Linked DNA regions of Homo sapiens: all the other regions are linked to region 1. The links are contacts of gene promoters, found by promoter capture Hi-C in blood cells and fetal thymus (Javierre and others, 2016). All regions are on one chromosome and are shown on one strand. Each heading gives the region's core, a stretch centred on a gene start or on the middle of the fragment in contact. The rest is flanking DNA. Distances are from core to core; before and after follow the strand shown. Region 1 holds the start of ZFR (zinc finger RNA binding protein). Region 2 overlaps LOC124900962 (a long non-coding RNA gene). Region 3 overlaps LMBRD2 (LMBR1 domain containing 2).

What was found. Contacts are between HindIII fragments. The CHiCAGO score rates a contact against its expected background, and 5 or more counts as called.
Region 2: a contact is called between a fragment that was not itself captured here and the fragment with the promoter of ZFR in region 1, in 2 of 17 cell types (total CD4 T cells and naive CD4 T cells). The highest score is 6.7, in total CD4 T cells.
Region 3: a fragment that was not itself captured here is called in contact with the fragment with the promoter of ZFR in region 1 in 3 of 17 cell types (total CD4 T cells, total CD8 T cells and naive CD8 T cells); the score reaches 6.3 in total CD4 T cells.

The regions. Positions count from the first base shown.
Region 1 is chr5:32,443,314-32,446,161 of GRCh38, reverse strand. ZFR (zinc finger RNA binding protein) reads left to right here and starts at 1,422. Exons shown (of 20, transcript NM_016107.5): 1 at 1,422-1,540; 2 at 1,834-1,933. The coding sequence starts at 1,504. RefSeq lists silencers at 1,120-1,809, 2,040-2,379 and an enhancer at 1,771-2,328. The HindIII fragment of the contact is 7,512 bases long and covers 1-2,848 here.
Region 2 is chr5:36,244,041-36,246,888 of GRCh38, reverse strand. The region is part of intron 1 of LOC124900962 (a long non-coding RNA gene); the gene reads right to left. Among named protein-coding and RNA genes, the nearest start is that of NADK2, 3.5 kb to the right of the region's middle. The HindIII fragment of the contact is 1,662 bases long and covers 629-2,290 here.
Region 3 is chr5:36,148,218-36,151,065 of GRCh38, reverse strand. The region is part of intron 1 of LMBRD2 (LMBR1 domain containing 2); the gene reads left to right. Among named protein-coding and RNA genes, the nearest start is that of MIR580, 1.7 kb to the right of the region's middle. The HindIII fragment of the contact is 2,220 bases long and covers 240-2,459 here.

The DNA.
Region 1 (2,848 bases), core at 173-2,672:
TACAGGCGCCCGCCACCACGCCCGGCTTTTTTTTTTTTTCTTTTTTTTTGAGACGGGGTTTCACCATGTTGGCCACTGACCTCACCTCGTGATCCACCCGCCTCGGCCGCCCAAAGTGTTGGGATTACAGGCGTGAGCCACCGCGCCCGGCCAGCATTTCCTTTTAATGTTCATATCCAACAATGAGGAGAGATGAGGAGCAGGGAGTCTGGGGGATGGGCATGGAGAAGGTAAGGAAGAGGTGAAATGCAGGCAGTACATATGTACTTGATGGAAGACACGAAACATAAGGCCAGAGAAACTAGACGATCAGAAGAGGGACTGGAAGAGGAAAGAGAATGGTTGAAAACGAACTGAGAAACTAAAGGGAAGAAAGCGAGGAAACAGAGGGAAAGAGGAAATGCTTACATGGGGGCAAGTACTGTTCTGTCCTTACCACTAAAGATCTGGCACGTGATCTGGTCTCCCTCTCACTTGACTCCAGCCAGACTGATCTTCTTGCTCTTGAACATTCATTCCTTCATCTGGACCCTTCCACTTGCTGCTCTTCCTGCAGGCATCTCCCAGGCCTGTCCTTCCTTCCTTCAAGTGGTCTCCCTAACCACACTCTACATGAAATAGCACCTCCCTTACCCTTATTTTCCTTACTCTGCTTTATTTATGCTTGAAGCTCCAGTCACCATCAGACAGAATTTCTGTGTTTTGGCTACCGGCTGTTGGCTGACATATACCCGCTCCTAGAACGTAAACTCCACGGGAACAGGGACTTTGTTTTGTTCTCTGCCGTATCTCCAGCACCTACAACACTGCCTGACACCCTGCTGGGTGACCGATATACGCCGGATGGCTCAGGGAGTGGGTGCAGGTCGAGGAAAGGGTATAGCAAGAGGTATGTCCGGGAGGGATGTTTAGGGTGTGCTTTTAGTCCAACAGAAAAGCACTCTCCATCCTTTTTCTATTTCTCTCCTCTCCTTCTCCCTCCCTCCGCACTTCAGAGGTTGGGGAAAAGCTGCGGGAAAGCAGGAAATAAGGAAAAATCCTAAATTGCCCAGCTCGAATTCCAATGAAAAATTAATGAGCGAGGAAGACAGGGAGGCAGGGAATAAGTGCACATGCAAAAGTTAAGGAAGCCAGTGGAAAGCAAAGAAAAAGGCGAACAGACGTCACTCTCTCTGGTCACGCTCCCCGACTCCCCAGAGGACAGGCGAGGCGCTTCTGGCACACGCCCCCGTCGCCCCGCGGCCGCGCGGCGTCACCACCACTTCGGAGAAGGCCAGGCCCCTCTTCCCCCGCGGGCTTCCCCGCGCCCGCACCGCCGAGGCCCCGGCACGCGCCCGGGGGAGCCGCGAAGACGGCGGGGACTACAGCTCCCAGGATGCCGAGCACAGGCGCGCCTGCGCAGTGCGGTCGGAGGCGGCGGTCTGTTCTCCGCTGAGGAGGAGCGGGGCAGAGGAGGGAGGCAGCGGGTGAGAGTTCAGAGTTCAGCAGCAGCAGCCCGAGCCCATGATTCCCATATGCCCTGTAGTTTCTTTCACCTATGGTGAGTCTAATGTGGCCCGCGAGGCCTCTGCCCGGCCCCCTCCCTGGCCCCGGGCAGCGGGGAGCCGCGGGGGTTGGGGCAGGCTCCGGGGAGGAGGCGGCGGCCGCCACCCGGGCGTGCGAGTGAGTGAGGGAGTGCGAGGCGGGAGGGGGAGGCGGCGCGGCCGCGGCCTGGGCCCCGCCAGGGCTGCTCTCACGGCGCCTCTCTCTTTCTCTCCCTGCCCTCCCTCGGCGTCTCGGCTCCTCTGTGTCTCTTGTCCCGCCATGGGACCCGACTCTTCGTGCCCGCCGCAGTGCCCAGCCGGCTGGGGGAAGATGCCAAAATGGCGACCGGCAACTACTTTGGATTCACCCACAGCGGGGCGGCGGCGGCGGCGGCTGCGGCCCAATATAGGTAACGGCATCCTGCCTTCTCTCTGTTCGCCCCTTGCTCTCCCCTCGGTCCGGATCCTGTCGATGCGACGCCCCCGCGCCCGTCCCCAGCCATCCCAGAGCCCCGGCCCGCTGCAGGCCTGGCCCGGCCCAGCCCGGCGGCCTCTCCCGCCCCGCCCCGCCCCGCCCCGCCTTGCCCGGCCCGGCCCGGCCCGCGGCGGGGAGCGGCCCCCAGTAGGGGGGAGGTAGAGACGGCGGAGGTGTAGGGACGTGGAGGCCTCAGGGCCCTTCAGCGGCCCCTTAACTAAAATGGCCTCCTGCGGCCGCCGAGCGGAGCCGCCACCGCCGCCCGGCAGGCCCCCCAGTCCCCGCCTCCGCGCGTCCAGCCCCCACCTCCCATCTTCTTCCCACTTGGGGGATGGAGAGGGTGGCTGAAGGGACCTCACGGGGAGTGCCGTGTCGCAGGTCCACTGGCTTCTCGTGCGACGCCTCTCTGCGTCGTCGCCTGGTGCTTCAACCCCCGGAGCCCAGATAACGTGTCGTTGTCTCGGGTACCTTTTCCTCCGCCGTGGGGCTTCTTCCCCAGACGCTCCATCGCTAGCGAGTCCTGCTGACAAACTGCGGGTGTCACTGTGTTCATCGGGTTCCTTTAGTTTTTCCTGCAAGGAGAGAGATTCACATACCAACCACCTGTAAATTGTGTAGTTCTTAGACTGGAAAAGATGTGCGAAGTTTCTAGTGCTGATAAATGAGTGCCCAGCCTTGTTTGAGCTATGGAGTTTAGGCCCCAGGTGGGCCTGTCATTCTCCTTGCGGGGGTCTTTCCCCTGCGGGGAATGGTGGGGAGGGAAGAAGATGCAAGTGAGATTGTACTGAGTCATTGTAATGCACCGGATGAAATCCCTGCTTTAAGGGAAGCTCTCATTTCTGAAGTCTGT
Region 2 (2,848 bases), core at 210-2,709, 3.8 Mb before region 1:
AAAACAAGGAACGCTTTTTCGCCAGGAGAATACATCCTATACAGCAGTGGTAACCAACCTTTTTGGCACCAGGGACTGGTTTTGTGGAAGACAATTTTTCCACAGGCTAGGGGGTGGGTAGGGTGGGGGTGGTTTTGGGATGAAGCTGTTCCACCTCAGATCATCAGGCATTAGAGTCTCATACGGAGCGTGCAACCTAGGTGCCTTGCATGAGCAGTTTACAGTAGTGTTTGCATCCTATGAGAATCTAATGCTGCCTCTGATCTGACAGCAGGCAGAGCTCAGGCAGTAACGCAAATTATGGGAAGCAACTGTAAATACAGATGAAGCTTCACCCCCTTGCCTGCCGCTCCTCTCCTGCTGTGTGGCCCGGTTCCTAATAGGCCAGGGACCGATACTGGTCCACAGCTCGGGGGTGGTGGACCCCTGCTATACAGGTCTTAGAGTATTTGAATGTCATAAAAAGAGGTATATATGTCTTTCATAGAGTCAGAATGAACATGAAGTGGGGGTGGGAAGGGTTCTGGGGGTTGGGAAGGATATATTTTAAAACCTCTGTAAATCTTCAAGTTGTGAATACCACAGTGATATATAATTTTCCCCATAAAATGTTGAGAACAGTTAAGCTTGCTTGAGATATGGCTATCACATGGTTGGCTAGACTCATTTACTAGAAAAGCACACCAGCCTCACCATAGATGGAGTCTGAGTTTAAAACTCAAAAATCCATGAATGCCAGCAGTTTTGTTTGGGAGGGTGAGGTCGGCGGATTGCCTGAGCCCAGGAGTTCAGGACCAGCCCGGGGAACATTGCACAACACCCCATTTCTACAAAAATTTCTAAAAATTAGCAGGGTGGCTGGGCGTGGTGGCTCACGCCTGTAATCCCAGCACTTTGGGAGGCCGAGGCAGGCGGATCATGAGGTCAGGAGTTCTCAGGACCAGCCTGGCCAGGATGGTGAAACCCCGTCTCTACTAAATATACAAAAATTAGCCAGGCGTTGTGGCATGCACCTGTAATCCCAGCTACTCGAGAGGCTGAGGCGAGAATTGCTTAAACCGGGAGGCGGAGGTTGCAGTAAGTCGAGATGGTGCCACTGCACTCCAGCCAGGGTGACAGAGCGAGACTCCATCTCAAAAAAAAAAAAAAATTAGCAGGGCATGGTGACACGCATCTGTAATCCCAGCTACCTGGGAGGCTGAGGTAGGAGGATTGCCTGAGCCTGGGAGGTTGCAGCTGTGTGAGCCATGCGGTGCAGTGCCACTGCACTCCAGCCTAGGGGATAGAGTAAGACCCTGTCTCAGGAAAAAAAAAAAAAAAAGATATTTGTAAACTATGGCACTGGAAGGAAGAATTATTGAAATGATTAGCTAATGTTTAGCCTAATCAAGACTTGATATGGATAAGTTTTCTAACAGAGTGTTACCAAGATTTCTTAATTTCTACCAATCTAGTGGATATAAAATATTATTTCACAATGACATTATTTGTATTTCTCTAATTTCCAATAAGGTTATCTTTTCAAGTATTTATTCACTGTTTGTGTTTCTTCTAAAAAATTCCTGCTCACGCCTGGGCACAGTGGCTCACACCTGTAATCCCAGCACTTTGAGAGGCCGAGGTGGGTGGATCATGAGGTCAGGAGATCGAGACCATTCTGGCTAAGATGGTGAAACCCTGTCTCTACTAAAAATACAAAAAATTAGCCAGGCCTGGTGGCACGCACCTGTAGTCCCAGCTACTCTGGAGGCTGAGGCAGGAGAATCCCTTGAACTCGGGAGGCGGAGGTTGCAGTGAGCTGAGATTGCACCACTGCACTCCAGTATGGACGACAGAGCGAAACTCCATCTCAAAAAAAAAAAAATTCACAATTTTTGCAAAGCTAATCATGTCATTTTCTCCTTTTGGTTGCCTCCTAATATATGCAGGATAAAAGGCAGGTTCCTAAGCATGGATTTAACATTTTCCATTGTCTTTACCCTTGTCTACCTCTCTAGCCTCACTTCCCCATGTTGCCTGCCTCTCTCTAAATTCTCTAAAATTTCAAAATTGCTAGTTCATTGCTTCTATGCATTTGTTCATGGTGTTTCTTCTGTGGAATTTCCTTCTCATTCTTGCTGATAATGGCTAATATTGAATTCATTACTTAAGGCTTAGCTCTTCACATTCCCAAAAAGCCTTCTCTAACTCTTGTTAGGTTGACTTGAGACTTGCTCCTCCAAATTTCTCAGCATTCTGTGTATAACTCTATCACTGCATAGACTTTAGGCTCCTCAAGGGCATGGAAGCTTTTTATCATTTCATCTGTAGCACCTAGCAGGATGCCTGGCCTACAGTGACACTCAAATTTAATTTAATCTCCACGAATGTGTGTTACATGTGTAAGATTTAAGAGACATTATCTAAAAGGAAACTAGATAAGGATTGGAAATTCAAGAGAAAGATCTGGGCTAAAGATGCCAGTAATAGCTGAGGTCATGAAAGGGGCTAATATTTGCCAAGTGTCTACTGTGTAATGGGCACAGTGCTAAGCATCTGTGCATATATTCACAATTTTACAAGGTAGCAATTATATTTTATAAATGCAGAAGTAGTCTCAGGAAGGTTAAACAACCAGTTCAAGTTTCACAAAGCTAATAAACAATAAAACTGAGATTTGAACCAAGATCCTTCCATTACACAACACTGAATGAACTCAGGAGCGTGTGTGTGTGACAGAGAGAGAGAGAGAGAAGGAAAAAAGACGGAGAAGAAGAGACAAGGAGACGAGGACAGAAGACATCTTGGAGATGGGTTTAGGAAGAAGTCAAAAAGGGACATAGAGATGGGAGAAACACTGTTAGGGACT
Region 3 (2,848 bases), core at 100-2,599, 3.7 Mb before region 1:
ATTGGGCAAACTATACTACAACTGTGACCCCGGGAAAACAGTGGAAGAGGGAAGGGGGATGAATTCTAAGCCTCATAAAAATGAAGATTTATAAAGTTCATAAGGAAGCATAACAGCTTCATCGCATATTAGAATATTCAGTGATGCTGTATGACACACCCTCTGGTTTCCTTGAAAAAATGATTCGCTCTGTAGTGAAATTAAACCTCCCTTGTGCAGGTATATGCTTGTTTCAAGCTTGGTCCTTAGCTTGAAAAGTAACTGCCTCTTGAGGAAGGAATTCATGAACCTTTAGCTCGTTCTTGAAAGATGAGATTGGTGTAAAGAAGGGATCTGTTCACAACTTGGTTTTGATTGGAACTAGGTGCAGAATCCTAGGCTAAGCCGTTCATCAAACTAATGTTATATGGAAAGCATTTTAAAATGCAATATCCTGATGTTTTACAGAAAGTGACCTTTATGTTACTTTGGCTAAGGAGAAAGCATTTGCCTTTGTTTGAAGCTACGTCCTTTCCCTGAAGATTGCAACTCATAGGAGAAAATATTTTTGACACAAAAAATTATAGTTTCCTTCAGGAAAGGGAACAAAACAGAGAGAGCCTGTAAGCTAATGGAGGAGAAAGAATAAACAAAAATATTTAAGATGCCATAATGAGAATAAACAGTTTTGAGATGTAAAATAATTGGGAGAGCCCACTTCAGATATAGATCTCATAGATAGGAAGGTTTAATCGATGAGATGATTCTAAATTTAAAGATGAGAAATATCTTTGTTCAGTCTTGGTTTTACTAGGAGTTACCTGGGAACTAGAATACTTGCAACATCTGAATTAGTGAACACAAGATCCTCTCTAGGACTTCAGGGAGAGCCTGTCAGTTTTGAAATTCAGTTTGATAGTTTGCCCCGGTAACAGACATACTTCATCTTCCTAATATGGGAATAATTTTTTTTTGCCTTCCTTCTAATCATGACTATTGCCTTAATATAATAAATGCAAGTTTAAATTGGTACATTAGATTCTTTTTAACGTAAGGAATTGTGTCCATTGAAGACGAGATTAGTAGGTACATAGAGGTTGCTATCTGGTCATAAAGAACTGCATTGTGATTGCTACTGATGTATCTTATTTTTTCTGATTAATTTTATTTTTATTTTTTGAGAAGAAATTTCACTCTTATTGCCCAGGCTGGAGTGCAATGGCGCAATCTCGGCTCACCATAACCTCCACCTCCCATGTTCAAGCAATTCCCCTGCCTCAGCCTTCCTGAGTAGCTGGGATTACAGGCATGCGCCACCACGCCTGGCTAATTTTGTATTTTTAGTGGAGACGGGGTTTCTGCATGTTGGTCAGGCTGGTCTCGAACTCCCGACCTCAGATGATCCACCCACCTCAGCCTCCTAAAGTGCTGAGATTACAGGCGTGAGCCTCCGTGCCCAGCCGATTCTTACATCTCTTTAAAAGGAAGACGGTCCACCCTTCTTTGTTTCTCCATCCTGCTGTCTAGATGATGATAGGATTCCTGGAGTTCCAGCATCTGTCCTGGAACATAAGGATTAAAGCCACCTGCTAAGGATGTGGACTATAGAAGGGGCCTGGGCCTCTGATAATCTGCTAACTTGCCATAACCACCTATCTCAAGACTTACACGAGAAATAAATTCTGCATTGTATAAGTCTGTACTATATTGGACTTTTCTGTTATGTGTAGCCAAACTAATCTTGAATAATGTATTTCCAGAACTGATAGTCTCTGTGGTGGTGGCAGCTACCTGTTTACATAACCCTTATCACCCCCTAATGTATTTTTTTTAATTGCCTGTTTCTTCCCACTAGACTTTTTAAGGGCAGGGACTTTGCTTGGATTTTTCTATCTCCAGCCCCTTGAACAGAGCTCACCATATAGTAGGCGTTCAGTAAATATTTGCTAAATGAATGAATGGTGCTTGGAACTAAGTAGATCTTTAATTCATTGTAATTTAATGCTCTAAGATAGGCAGCTTGGGGCAAGAACAAACGGATTCTAATTTACTCTATGTTTTCCACTTTTCCCATGTAGAGTACAGTCATATATTACCCTTAAATCAAGTAATAGTAGTATAATCTGTAATGTAAAAAGTTTGCGTTAAATTCTTTATTAAACATGACTAAGCATTCTGTCCTGATATATCTAAAAGAAATGGGAGAAAGTTTCTAATTTGTTCCCTGTGAAGACTGAACAAAATAAATCATTAAGCAATTTAAATTGCATTAAGAAACTATGTCTAGATTAGAGAAGAGACATGTAATTATGATCCAGGCTCTGTAGTAAAGATGCCTCTATTTGAATCCCAGCTTTACCATTCACCAGCTCTGTTAACTTGGACAAGTTACTTAACCTCTCTGCACTGTTTTTTTTCTGTTAAGCAAGGAAACGAACAGCCCTTTCTTACTAGGTTGTGAGGTCTAATTTGATAAAGCTTGGCAGGTACTAGTATTAATACAATGCTTAAAATTTAGTGAACACATTCTAAATGTTAGCTATTCGTTTTTTGAAATTATTTTATTATTAGGAAGGACTTTACAGATTATTCTCTATCAAAATGTCTTGCAATTTCTATGTATGAAATCTTTAAGAATTCAGTAAAATTTTAGTTCTTTTTTCTTATATGCTTACATGATTGCTACCTCTTCTCTTCATGCCTTGCAAAAGGTAAAGCAGGACAGTATGCCACTGTCCTCAGGGGCTTGTCACATTTTGGAATTCAGGTTACCTGGTTGGTTCGCCAACTCAGCTCTTAGGTACCTTTAAAAAATATTATGATGGTTTTTTTTTTTTTTTCATTTTTCGAGTGGGAGTAATAGTCTCTT